Linked DNA regions of Homo sapiens: region 1 is linked to region 2. Evidence: promoter capture Hi-C in human tissues and cell types (Jung and others, 2019). All regions are on one chromosome and are shown on one strand. The core of a region is centred on a gene start or on the middle of the fragment in contact, and the rest is flanking DNA. Distances in the headings are between cores, read along the strand shown.

Region 1 (6,704 bases), core at 3,651-6,150, 190 kb after region 2:
ACTCTAGCCTGGGTGACAGAGGGAGACTCTATCTCCAAAAAAAAAAAAAAAAAAAAAAAAATCGACTTCAACCCCCGTATGATTTCATCTTCAGTCTGACCAATACGCACTCCCCAATCCCTGGTCCCAGACCTGCTGAATCATCCTTAAAAGACCCATTTTTGAATTTTCGAGGGGCTGATTTAAGTAATAATAAATTCCAGTCTCCTGTTTAGCCAGCTCTACATGTATTAAACTCTTTCTATTGCAATTCCCCTGTCTTGATAAATCGGCTCTACCTGGGCAACGGGCTAGAACTTGTTGGGCTGTTACTAAGACAGTGTAAGATCAAGCTTCATTCTGGCCCACTCTCCCCATCTCACCCAGAAGAGGTGGCCTCCTAGGCTGCCCCTTCCTCTCTTGATCTGACTGGGATTTCCCCCCTGTTAGGGAGCTCTGGAAGAACCCCCAGTCCCAGGCCCCACCTGGCTCTGAGCTGGGTTTACAGGAAGCCCCCTGTGCACCCCTGTCCCATGAGGTCATGTGGAAAAACCCTGGGAAACTCTAACACCTGCTGCAGGTGCTGGCTGTTCCTTTTTTTTTTCTTTTTTTTCAAGCTGTAGAATTTCTCTGCCATGCAAAACTTGTTGATAATAATATAACAAACATTTCCATCTCTATTGCCCTGCTTAGGAAATAAATCTTACGGGGACACTGGAAGACTCTTGGGTGTCCCTTCCTGATCCTGTTCCCCACCTCTGTCACCAGGGGTAACCCAAACCTGAACTGCGTGTTTATCCATAAATGATAAGTGGTATTGCTTTGCATGGTTTTAAACTTTCAGTAGCGGTTTCTGTCTTTTATTCATTCATAAACTCACAAACATATACATATTGAGAACCTACTGTATGTGAGGCACCAACCTAAGCCCTGGGAACATCCGTAAACAACAGAGAGGATTACTGCTCTCATGGGACACACATTCTGGTGGGGTGAGCCAAACCATAAACAAAAGGTATGAAACTGAGATACATTATTAATATGTTACAACGTGAGAAGTACAGAGGGAAAAAATAAGGGAAGCTGGAGAGGCAGGGGTGGTGGAATATTGCAATTTTAAGTAGGATTGCAATTTTTTCCCCTTTCTTCTTTTTTGAGATGGGGTCTTGCTCTGTCCCGCAGGCTAGAGCGCAGTGGTGCAATCATAGCTTGCTGCAGCCTCAAATTCCTCAGGCTCAAGCAAACCTCCCATCTCAGCCTCCTGAGTGGCCAGGACTACAGGTGCACACCACCAAGCCTAGTTAATTTTTTTTTTTTTTTGAGACGGAGTCTCGCTCTGTTGCCCAGGCTGGGGTGCAGTGGTGTAATCTCCACTCACTGCAAGCTCCGACTCCCGGGTTCACGCCAGTCTCCTGCCTCAGCCTCCCGAGTAGCTGGGACTATAGGCGCCTGCCACCACGCCCAGCTAATTTTTTTGTTTTTTTTTTTTTTTTGGTAGAGATGGGGTTTCACCATTTTATCCAGGATGGTCTCGATCTCCTGACCTTGTGATCCTCCCGCCTTGGCCTCCCAAAGTGCTGGGATTACAGGCGTAAGCCACCGCGCCCGGCCAATTTTTTTTTTTTTTTTTTTTTTTTTAAGTAGAGACAAGGTCTTGTGATGTTGCTCAGGCTGGTCTTGAACTCCTGAGCTCAAGTGATCCTCTTGCCTCAGCCTTCCAAAGTGCTGGGATTACAGGTGTGAGCCACCATGGCTGGCTGTGTATGTCTTGTGTATGTCATGGCATCCTTATATGTCTTGTGTATTTACTCAATATTGTATATGTTTTGTATAACTGTGCCATCTTTATTCATTCCCCTGTCAATAAGTATTTATTATATCTTTCTCTTGTATTTGTCCTTATAAACAACGTTGCCATAGCATTCTTGTAAATGTCTTTTTTTTTTTTTTTTTTAAGTCAGTGTCTTGTTCTGTCACCCAGGCTGGAATACAGCAGCATGATCATAGTTACTGTAACTTCAAACTCTTGGGCTCATGTTATCCTTCCACCTCAGCCTCCTGAGTGCCAAGACTACAGGTGCATGCCTCTATGCCTGGCTCATTTTTAATTTTTTTTTGTAAAAACAGTGTCTTGTTATGTTGCCCAGGCTGGTCTCAAACTTCTTACCTCAAGTGATCGTTCTGCCTTGGCCTCCCAAAGCACTGGGATTACAGGCATCAATATCTTTTTGTGCATGCACGGGAGAGATGTTCTAGGGCATGTATCCTAATATAGAATTGTCGAGTCCAAAGTATCTTCAACCTAGCTTAGCTAGATGGTATCAATGGCTTCTGCAAAAATAAATAAAATAAAATAAAATAAAATAAAAAATGAGCCACGCATAGCGGCACACACCTGCTGGGTCAATAGGCATAAGTGTTTTCAAAAAAAAAATTAAAAAATTAGCCAGGACTGGTGGCACACACCTGTAGTCCTAGCTACCTGGGGGGCTGAGGTGGGAGAATCACTTGAGCCTAGGGGTTTGAGGCTGCAATGAGCTGGGATCACACCACTGCACTCTAGCCTGGGCGACGGAGTGAGACTCTGTCCTAAAAAAAAAGAAAGAAGAAAGTAATTTTAAAAATATTTTGTTTTCAAAAACCCAGAATTGAAGAACACAAGTATCTGGCATGAAGAAAATATCCTACAAGTTTGCAGAGAAAAAGTGGATTTCATACAAAGGATCATGGATCCGAATGGCACTGGATTCTTTAACAGCGTCAGTGGGAACCGGAACATGATGGAGGAATATGTTCAAAATTCTGAAAGAAAGAGTTTGTAGTTAAATTAGTGACGAAAATTAGTAAACCAAGCCAATGGTAAAAACGAGACAATTGGGCCGGGTAGAGTGGCTCGCACCTGTAATTCCAGCACTCTGGGAGGCTGAGGCTGTGGATCATCTGAGGTCAGGAGTTTGAGACCAGTGTGGCCAACATGGCAAAACCCCATCTCTACTGAAAGTACAAAAATTAGCTGGGCTTGGTGGCGCGTGCCTGTAGTCCCAGCTACTCAGGAGGCTGAGATAGGAGAATCACTTGAACTTGGGAGGTGGAGGCTTCAGTGAGCCAAGACTGTGCCATTAAACTCCCGTCTGGGGGACAGAGAGAGATTCTGTCTCAAAAAAAAAAAAAAAAAAAAGCAAGACAATTATTAACTCTGAAAATCTTGAAAACAGATTTGCAGTCAGAATAAAGCAAATAACGAATATTGATCTGATCAGAATGACAAATAACTATATTGGGAGGCTGTGGGGGGTGGGAATACATGTATTAATATGCGTTTTGTTCCAGGGTGGGGGGTATTGTGAGTGAGTGATTGATGAGAGCCAAATTCTCCCCTTCCATAATGAAAAATCACTATATAATGTATAAACCTGAAAAATCAAGAAGTAGCAATATAAGCATGGTATTTAGAGAAAATACACTAAATACTTAAAGGATTGAAATAGTATCTCTGAGGCTGTGTATGGTGGCTCATGCTTGCAATCCCAACAGTTTGGGAGGCCAAGGCAGGAGGACTGCTTGAGCCTAGGAGTTCAAGACCAGCTTGGGCAACACAGGGAGACCCCTGTCTAGGATAAATGATAAAAGTTAGCTGGGCATGGTGGCACATGCCTGTGGTTCCCACTACTCAGGAGGCTGAGAAGGGAAAATCACTTGTACCCTGGAGGTCGAAGCTACAGTGAGCCGAGATCATGCCACTGCACTCCAGCCTGGGAGACAGAGTGAGACCCTGTCTCAAAAAAGAAAAAAAAAAAAAAAGTATCTCTGGGACTGAAAAAGCAGAGCAGGGCCATGACTGGGGGAGTGGCTTCAGGGAATTGCTGATTTTTGTAACAAATCTTGTAGAATTTTTTGACCTTTGAAATCATGTGCATGTATAACTTGATACAAATTAAAGTTAAATTTAAAAGCTCCCCTGAGATTAGCAGCCTTGAACATATGTCTTTCACATCTCTTCATTTGTTTCCTTAGGATAAATTCCAGAGGTGGGACTGCTGGGTCAACAGGCATAAGTGTTTTCAAGACCGTATCACCCACAGTGGTAAACAGGGCACCCATCTTTCCCTTTCCAGAGGGTTAATAGCCTTTACTTGCCAGTCTTTGCAAACACCATTATCAATTTTCACATCTCTGCCAATCTGATGGTAAAACGTGGTATTACATGGTAGTTTTAATTTGTGCTTCTTTGACTACTAAATAGTTTTACATAGTTAACATATTTAACCATTTTTAGTTCTTCTTTTATTAATTTCCTGTTACTGTTATTTGTCCATTTTCTTCACCTTTTTCACTCTTGATTTGTAAGGGCTCTTTAAATAGCAAGCCTGCTCATTCTCTATCACACATTGCAAATATTTCCCCCACAGTGGGCCCTTCTCCTTTCAATGTTCTTTTTTGATATAAGGGATTTTTTTGTTTTTATATAGTTAGTCTATCACTTATGTTTTTGGCCTTGGGGTTATGCCCGGAAAGCCCTGGCTCATCCGTGGGCCTTTTACAAGCGCAGCATCTCCTACAGCTTCACCTACTATTCCTATCGAGTATTTCATCAACTCCAAGTTTTTCACATTTTTAATCTCTGAAACTGGGATGGTGCTCAGGTAGTAGTCACTGCCTGCTGCAAATCAGGATGTGCAGAAAACATCAGTGATTTGTCAACAAAAGTCCCAGAGACGACAGTGGGGTATTCTGCAAGAAATGCTGCAACGTCACCTGTTTCTTTTTCCTGCTGGGCACGGAAGGAGGTAACATTTCTCAGCCTCCCTTGCAGTTAGGAGTGGCCGCGTGACCAGGTTCTAGCCACTGGACTGTGGGTGGAGGTGATACAGGTGCCTTGCCCGGTTGGCCCATAAAACCTCCCACAAGATCCTCTACTGTCTTTCTTCCTGTTTGCCGTCAGAGGAGCTGGCAGTGGCTCTGGGGGATGGCACAAGCAGTGGAGGTCCCTGAATGGCCACATGGGAGGCAGCTGGCTAACCAGGGATTCTCACTGCTCTTTGTGTAAACAAGTAATTTACTTCCATTGTGTTCAGCCATTGAGGTTTGGAGTTATGTTCCTCACAGCAGCTAGCATTGCTGATACCTAACTGACACCCTTGTCTTCATTCTGACTCTAATCCAAACTCCTCTAGACGGGGTTTAGTGTTTTATCATTAGTATGATGTTGATTCTTGATTTTAGATAGATACACTTTATCTTGTGCTCTTTTAAAAATCAAGTCTTAGTATTGGAGTTATGCAAAGTGTGTAAAATTAATTGGAAAATTTTTAACTTTTTTCTAAGCTCTGGGAAAGGTTGCATAGCACAGAAATTAACTGTTGGGTGAAACTGACAAAATTCATCCTAAGAACTGTGTGTGTCCTTTTGTAAGAGCACTGCTTTAACAAGCTTTACTTTTTTTAAGACAGAGTCTTGCTCTGTCGCCCAAGCTGGAGTGCAGTGGTACCATCTCAGCTCACAGCAACCTCCACCCCCTTGGTTCAAGCAATTCTCATGCCTCAGCCTCTTGAGTAGCTGGGACTACAGGTACTCACCACCATGCCTGGCTAATTTATTTATTTATTTATTTATTTATTTATTTATTTATTTATTTATTTATTTAGTAGAGATGGGGTTTCACTATGTTGGCCAGGATGGTCTTGAACTCCTGACCTCAAGTGATCAGCCCGCCTTGGCCTCCCAAATTCCTGGGATTACAGGCATGAGCCACCATGCCCGGCCTACTTTCTTTTTCTTTTCAAACTAACTTTTGTTATAGACTAAATTGTGTTTCCCCAAAATTCATAGGTTGAAGCCCTAAACCCCAATGTGACTGTATATGGAAACAAGGTCTTTAAGGAGGTAATTAAGGTAAAATGAGGTCACAAGGGTGGGACCCTCACGCAATATGACTGATGTCCTTAAAAGAAGAAAGACACCAGGGACACGTGTGCACAGGGCAAAGGCCGTGGGAAGACATAGCAAGAAGGTGGCTGTCGGCAGGCCAAGGAGAGAGGCCTCAGAAGAACTAAGCCTGCCAGCATCTTGAACTTGGACTTCCAGACTCCAGAACTGTGAGAAAATAAATTTCTATTGTTTAAGCCACCCAGTCCAGTCTGTGGTATTTTGTTATGGTAGCCCTAGCAGGACAACTTTTATTTTATTCATTTTTCATTAAAAAAAGAAAATAGAAAAAGCCATCCATAATTCTACTACTCAGGAATAACCATTGGTCAAATTGTGGTAAATATCCTTGCAAATACCCACTGACATTTACATATTTACTCATGTAAGTGGGAGCCATTCTCTATATATACCAACTTGCAACCTGCTTTTTACAAAATTTAATTAATTATTATTATTATTTTTTAGAGACAAGGTCTTATTCTGTCACCCAGGCTGGAGTGCAGTAGTGCGATCACGGCTCACTGCAGCATAAGACTTCTGGGCTAAGTGATCCTCCTGCCTCAGTCTCCAGAGTAGCTGGGACTATAGACATGTGCCATTATACCTGGCTAATTTTTAAATATTTTGTAGATATCAAGTCTTGCTATGTTGCCCAGGCTGGTCTTGAACTCCTGGCCTCAAGTGATCCTCCCACCTTGGCCTCTCAAAGTGCTGGGATTACAGGTGTGTGCTACCACACCTGGCTACGCAATCTGCTTTTTTTTTTTTTGGAGACAGTCTAGCTCTGTCACCTAGGC
Region 2 (7,838 bases), core at 5,013-7,512:
CCAGAGTGTGCCCTATTCCTCAGAAAAAAGAGGGTCACTAGGAAAAACTGAGAACTCTGAATTTAAGGTAGTAATTCTAATGATCAGGGAAATTTTTAAGTGTGCACAAAATAAGTGCTACAAGGATGTTCACTGAAGTATTATTTATAGAGAAAATATGTAAGCAACTGAATACCCAAAGGAAGAGATTTAGTAAATAAATTATGGTAAATCCATATACTGGAATGCCATACAGCCATCATTAATGATGTTTAGAGGAATATTTAAAGATATAGGAAGACAGTCAATATCACTTAATGAAAAATGCAGGTAAAAACAGCATATACTAAATGTTCTATTTTTGTAAAAATACACAGATATAAATGCGTGTGGAGATATATATATTATATATATATGCCTACACTCACACACACACACACACACACACACACACACACAAGAAAGAGCAAGAGCTGTACATGTATATGATAGAAGAAAGGCCAAAAGAATTACCATCAATATGAGTGGTTGTAGTATTATGGGGAATTACTTTTTTTTTCTTTACTTTTGTATTGTCTAAATTTTATTATAGTAAACATACTTTTTTATAAAAGAAAGAAAGTTATTTAAAGTATGACATGGGTTTTATATAATTATATTGCTGTAAATAAATACAAGCAAATACATTTTAAATTTCATTCTATAACTCTGCCTATGATAGACTAAAATTATTTAATTGATTTTTATTTAGCCAAACAAAAAACAACCTGTTCTAAAAGAGTGAGAAATAAGTAACTATATAAGACTAATAGGTAGGGTCGGGTGTGGAGGCTCATGCCTGTAATCTCAGCACTTTGGGAGGCCAAGGTGGGTGGATCACTTGAGGTCAGGTGTTCGAGACCAGCCTGGCCAACATGGTGAAACCCCATCTCTCCTAAAAATACAAAAATTAGCCAGGCGTGGTGGTGCACATTTGTAATCCTAGCTACTCAGGAGGCTGAGGCAGGAGAATTGCTTGAACTCAGAAGGCAGAGGTTGCAGTGAGCCGAGATTATGCCACTGCACTTCAACCTGGGCAACAGAACAAGACTCTGTGTCAAAATAATAATAATAATACTATGTAGTATTTGAGGGAAATTTCTTTTGGGGACAATTTCCTTTCAATCTAATATACAAAGCCAGCAATTTTTAAATTCTAAACACTAGTAGATATGAAATGCATTCATTCACTCATTCACTTGGGGGTACTTACTGAGTTTCTACCATGTAAATACCTGTCCTCGGTTGCTTGGAGGATGAAAGAATGAGCGATGACATGTTCCTTGTACTTGAGGTGCTTGCAGTCTACATGGCAAGAGATCAAATATTCATGAATTATCCAGACAACAAAGCCCTAAAGGTTAGAACTGAGAACGGGGTGTCATAGAAAGCAAATGCCAGTGAGGTGAAGGTTATCAACATTCTACCTCCCTTTAAGGTTCAAAGGTCCCCTCTTCCTAAAGAGGCATCTGTCCCTTAGTGAGCAGTAATTTCTAGAAGTAAGTTATCCTCTCTGCTAGGTGAGGACTCTGGTTAGCATCTATCATGGAACAATCCTTACTGAGAGCCCAAGGGTCCTTTCTTTGTCCTGACCCTTATTTCATTCATCTTGGTTCTGAGTGGACTTTAAAGTCAAGTTTATTTTAGGAATTCCAGGCCATGTTCACCTCCTGAAGGAATGAGGAAGGAGAGGTGTGGGACTGGATAATAACACAGTCCAGATTAACAACTGGTGATGGGTGAGGCAATGTGGAAAGAAGGGCTGCCTGTAGTCTATTGATGAGTAACAGCCACCCCTTATCCTGTCCCTCCCAAGCTGGGGTTTAACAACACTCCATTCTTTTCATCTTTACTTCTGAGGGGAGGATCGTCAATGAGAATATTCACAGTTAAAGTATCGAAACCAACAAGGTACGATGGGGAAAGGGGCTAAACTGGGAGCCCAGAGACCTATCCTAGTCCAAGCCAGTTCTAACTAGCGTCCCTTTGGGCCTCAGTTTCCCCATCTGCCAAATGAAGGGGTTGAACTGTTCAATACTCAAAGCCTATATAGCTCCCTATAAATTAGGAATCACAAACTTCCTGTGATTTTATGTTGGATTTATTCCCCAATCATGAGTCATCAGTCAATCTCTGACCTTGCAAATACAAATTCCTCACCAGTGATGAAAATTAAAGCACTTAATTCTCTTATGAGTAGGTTGTACACTCTGAATGATGTGTACTGTACTGTCTGGGAAGTCGAGGCAAAGGAAATGGCTCTTTAATCCCTCCTGGGATCTAAATGGAAAACAAGACAGGCTGTGACATCAGCTCCCATTTCCTCTGTGATCAGACTAAATAATACAAATATCAATATTAAATTATGCGCGCATACTTTTTATTTTTGCCTTCCACGGCAAATCACAGTGAATCCTTTGCTCTTAGCTTTTAGTTCAAGGTTATGTAGGAAGAACAGGAAAGATGAACACAGAATTACAGCATTTTTAGAAATGTGGGCAACTTTAAAGATTAGACCCAACCTCTAATCATCCCATCATTGAGGAAGAATGAGGGGTCCAAGATATGAAATAGCTCCATCCAATGTTGACTTCCTGAAGCATATTTTCTCAATTTGCCTCACCTAAACCCACTGTCATTGGACAATACCACCACCTACATGCCAAATAAATAAGCACTTTTTTAAAAAGCCAAAAAAGAGAAGCGAATCTCTTTTCATGAGTTTCCTTCATTACAACTAGATGAACCATGCAAGGGGAAAACTGAATTCACCAGGAGGAACGTATCTGAGACAGGAATGGGTCATCCTCCTAGCCTGTAACCAACACCAATTCTTCACTCCAAGATCTAGCTACCCCATATTTCTATCCACTACCTACTTCTGTCTCTACAGGTACGCAAGCACCAGACTTAAGAAAATTGTTATGAAAATAATACTGCCCTTTAACAGGCTAGCCGTTTGCTACCATATCACCTACCGGGTGTAAAGGTGCTGCTTTAGCTGGGCATGGTGGCGCTTGCCTGTATCCCAGCTACTTGGGAGGCTGAGGCAGGAGGATCCCTTGAGCCCAGGAGTTTGAGAATAGCCTGGGCAACATAGCGAGACCCTGTCTCAAAAAATTAATTTAAGAAAGTACTGCTTTAATTTAGGGAATAAAATTCAAATGCTTAAAATCTGTTCTTTTCACCAAGAAACATTATTTTTGGCTAATTTATCCCGTCTTTCATTTCCTATGAAAGTTACTCAAAAGCATCTCTGCAGAGAAAATAAATTGATAGTTTCATATGTGAGCTGTTTTTCTAAATTTTATCAGCATTAGGGGTTGAAGTTACTGGAACCACGTAACAAGAACTCACCCCTTCCCAATCACTTTGCCTCACTATTCGGATGGATGAGATATGCCTTATTTTTACATCCATCCTATCGTGGAACACACACACACACTGACCATTTTGATGTCTGACCATATTTGATGATATTTTCAAAGTCATACACTCCATAACAGAAAGTTCTAGATGACACAATTAAAATTCAAGATGCATAGGTGGTTTTAAAAAATGCATAGACTGTTAGAACTGGAAGAAACTTTCAAAAGCATCTCAATATATGCCTTCCCTTTCCAACTAAACAAATGGAAGAACTGGGTGCAGTGGCTCATGCCTCGGTCAGGAGACTGAGGCAAGAGGATTACTTGAGCCCAGGAGTTTGAGACCAGCCTGGACAACACAGCAATATTCTATTTCTAACAAAATAGAAAAAAATAACCAGGTGTAGTGGCACGTGCCAGTAGTCCCAACTACTCAGGAAGCTAAGGCAGGAGAAGGACTGCTTGAGCCCAGGAGTGTGAGGTTGCAGTGCGCTATGATCACACCACTGCACTCCAACCTGGGCGACAGAGCAAAACTTCATCTCTTAAAAAAGAAAAAAGAAAATTAGCCGAGCGTAGTGGCACACGCCTGTAGTCCCAGCTACTCGGGAGGCTGAGGCAGGAGAATCGCTTGAACCCGGGAGGCAGAGGTTGCAGTGAGCCAAGATCACGCCACTGCACTCCAGCCTGGGCGACAGAGCAAAACTCAGTCTAAAATAAATAAATAAATAAATAAATAAAGAAGAAGAAAGAAATGGAGTTGCAGTGAAATCAGATACTCGTCCCTCATCACACCACTAGTTGGCAGCAGTGCCAGATCTAGAGTCCATGTCTCCAGTGTTCCTGTTCATGTTCTTTCCGCAGTTCTTGCTGCTTTCAACATCACTGCAGGCTTTCTAAACACTCACCAAGGGTTGGCTGGAGGCTATTCCTTGGGAGTCAGCCCCTCCCATTCCAGAGCTGCCTCTGCTATTCCATTGCATGAATTACAGATGCAAAAGGTTGCTAAAGCTGGAATAAGCAGATGAGTTCCCTTTCTTGCCCCAGTGCCTTACATTCTGTCAACCAGAAAGTTGACCGTGCATATAGTTATTAGTTGCTCTCATAGTAAATTATTGTCCTAATTTATCCAAAGTCCATTGTTGCTATGCAATATGCAGTCAAGAAGGAACATTCTGGTTTTGAATTATGTGAGCAATTCAGTCATCTGGCTTGCGTGTAAGAAGTAGATATGGCTAGTTGGCATGCGTAACTTGGGGCAGCAGCCTACTAACTCTGTTTGGATGCTTCTGTGACAGGAAATCTGGTTGCATCAAACTCTTGACTCTAGCGATGTCCATCCATGTGGGCACTAACTGTTAAAGACTAACAGATGAGCAGTAGGGTGCAGGGGAAAGATAATTCAACTTGACATGATAATTATCTGCATTAGAACCCTGCCCGTGCATCACCAGCAGAATGACTAGACTTTAGTGCACTTTAGACTTCAGCTGCGATGTTCCAGATAAAGGGCTTCACACCAAAGCTGGACTTGGTTTCTGAGCCTCTTTCTATTCATCTGTAAAATGCTGATCAGATTTGAACTTGCTTTATACATATTGTGTTACTTGGCTAACAGTATTTTAAAGACCTCTGTGCTTCAATAATCTGTAAAAAGGCCAGGTGCGGTGGCTCATGCCTGTAATCACGGCACTTTTGGGGGCCGAGGTGGGCAGATCACCTGAGATCAGGAGTTTCCAAGACCAGCCTGGCCAACATGGTGAAACCGCGTCTCTACAAAAAATACAAAATTTAGCCAGGCGTGGTGCTGCGCAACCGTAATCCCAGCTACTCAGGAGGCTGAGGCAGGAGAATCACTTGAACCTGGGAAGCAGCGGTTGCAGTGAGCTGAAATTGCGCCACTGCACTCCAGCCTGGGCGGCAGAGCGAGACTCTGTCTCCAAAAAAAAAAAAAAAAAAAAAAAAGTTTCATCTTTGTCTCTTTGTTTTAACTTATGTAAAGTTTCAAACATACTCAAGAAAGACTAGAATAATTAACTAAAATGAAGTACTAGTCACCAGCAGTTTTTAATATTTTGCTGACATCACTTATCTCTCTCAATACTTTTTTCCCCCTCTGAGGTATTTTTAAGCACATTTGGGGGCCAGGCGCGATAGCTCACGCCTGTAATCCCAGCACTTTGGGAGGCCGAGGCGGGAGGATCGCTTGGATCCTGGAACCCAGGAGTTCCAGAACAGTCTCAACCACCACAATTAGCAATAAAAAAATAAATAAAAATTAAAGCACATTTGGGCAAGATGTTTTAAAGATCTCTGTGCTTCAATTGTCTAATCTAGGAAACGAAGATTATAATATCGAATTCACGGGGGACAATTATATTGAATATTCAATAAATGTTAGTTATCACTGTTTACAGTGGTACCTATGTGCACAGCCCCCTCCAGCGCGTAAAAGCACTTTACAGCGCAGCGCTCCAGGCTCAAGATAGATGTTATTGTTGTTGTTATTATTATTATTATTATTATTATTTTGAGACGGAGTCTCGCTCGCTCTGTCGCCCAGGCTGGAGCGCAGTGGCGCGATCTCGGCTAACTGCAACATCCCCCTCCTGGGTTCAAGCGATTTTCCTGCCTCAGCCTCCCGAGTAGCTGGGATTGTAAGCACGCGCCACCGAGCCGGGCTGATTTTTGTATGACAGATGTTATTAAAGACAGCGTGGAGAAACCAGAGCCTGCGTTGCTGAGCTTGCGGCCGCCCGCTTCACACCGCACTTCAGATCAGCTGGGTCAGGACGTGGATTGTCCCGTGCAGGCATCCATCGTCGAGTGTGGCAACGAGAGGGCGGGAACAGGAAGTGAGGATAGGCCGAGTTCCGGGCGCGAGGCGGCCACCGTGGAGAGCAGAGCGCGGCGGCTGGAAGCTGCTAAGTCAGAGCCGCGATGTTCCGGATTGAGGGCCTCGCGCCGAAGCTGGACCCGGAGGAGATGAAACGGAAGATGCGCGAGGATGTGATCTCCTCCATACGGAACTTTCTCATCTACGTGGCCCTCCTGCGAGTCAGTGAGTGTCTCCCGGGCTGTGACTGTGAGACCAGCGGGGAGCTCACCGACGGGCACCCCTTAACTCTAAGGGGTCATCGGGGCCTTCGAACTGAGCTGAACGGTAGCGGGGAGCAAGGAGGGTGCGCGTTGAAGGCGACGGGCATATGCGCGGTTTGAGGTCTGCGGGTCAGGGTCCGGGCACTGAAGTGCACGTGGTGGCCGGCGCGCGTGTTTAATCATCCTGGTTCTCCCAGCTTGAAGAATGTTTGAGCTGCCGGGCGCGTTGGCTCACACCTGTAATCCCACCCAGCACTTTGTGAAGCCGAGGCGGGCGGATCATTTGGGGTCAGGAGTTCGTGGTGGCGGGCGCCTGTAATCCCAGCTCCTCGGGAGGCTAAGGTGGGAGGATTGCTTGAATCCAGGAGGCGGAGGTTGCAGTGAGCCGAGATCGCGACACTGCACTCCAGCTTGAGTGACAGAGCAAGACTCCATCTCAAAAAAAAGAATGTTTGAGCTGAAAGAGCTCAAGTAATTATCCCTAGAGGAACTCCCTCGTTTTTGCAGACAGAGAAACAGAGAAACAGAACCATAGTTCTAGAAGGAAGAAACAGCCTTCTTGGGAAGGCTGGCCAAAGGTCACTCAGCGATTCAGTGAATGATCTTGACCTAAAATCCAGAACTCTTAACTCAGTACCAGGTTCCTTCCCTTTCTTTTCTTTTCTTTTTTTTTTTTTTCCTCGATACACAGTCACGCCCTGTTGCCCAGGCTGGAGTGCAGTGGCGCAGTCTTGGCTCACTGCAACCTCTGCCTCCCGAGTTCAAGCCATTCTCCCACCTCAGCCTCCCAAGTAGCTGAGATTACAGGCGCGCGCCACCACGCCCGGCTAATTTTTGTATTTTTAGTAGAGATGGGTGTTTAACCATGTTGGCCAGGCCGGTCTCGAACTCCTGACCTCAGGTGATCCACCTGCCTCAGCCTCCCAAAGTGCTGGGATTACAGGCGTGAACCAGCGGCCGGGTTCCTTCCCTTTCAAAAGTGCTGACCTTTGAAATCCAAAAAGTTTTGCTTCATTTCTGTTTCTTTGTATAGAGGGTGAAGTGAGTCATTAGTTTTTTGGAAAAAAATGGGAAAAAAGAATATGAGTCTATAGGATTAATGCAAATATTTGAGGTTTTTTTTTCTATATCTTAAAATTGACAGGAAGTTACTCCCATTATATAGTCTTGACAGTGGACCTTTGAGGGAGGCAGGGCCTAAGATTCTTTATATCATTTTACAAATGAGAACTTGATTTTCAGAGGGGACTTAGCAAGGAAGGAAGGTATCAGAGTTATAGGAACACTGAATATAAGAACTGGAAGCAGCTTTATGATCAGTTCTCGAATGCCCTGCCTTCTCGTTCTCAATTC

Evidence for each region. Contacts are between HindIII fragments. The study calls those that stand out against the background at their distance.
Region 1: a fragment that was not itself captured here is called in contact with the fragment with the promoter of TOMM5 in region 2 in 1 of the 25 tissues and cell types used here (bladder).

Annotation. Positions count from the first base shown.
Region 1 is chr9:37,397,032-37,403,735 of GRCh38, reverse strand. No RefSeq gene overlaps it. Among named protein-coding and RNA genes, the nearest start is that of LINC01627, 5.6 kb to the right of the region's middle. RefSeq lists enhancers at 478-647, 4,716-4,775. The HindIII fragment of the contact is 4,058 bases long and covers 2,872-6,704 here.
Region 2 is chr9:37,591,021-37,598,858 of GRCh38, reverse strand. TOMM5 (translocase of outer mitochondrial membrane 5) reads left to right here and starts at 6,262. Exons shown (of 2, transcript NM_001001790.3): 1 at 6,262-6,447. The coding sequence starts at 6,327. RefSeq lists silencers at 4,184-4,253, 4,653-4,947 and an enhancer at 5,906-6,665. The HindIII fragment of the contact is 28,692 bases long and covers 1-7,838 here.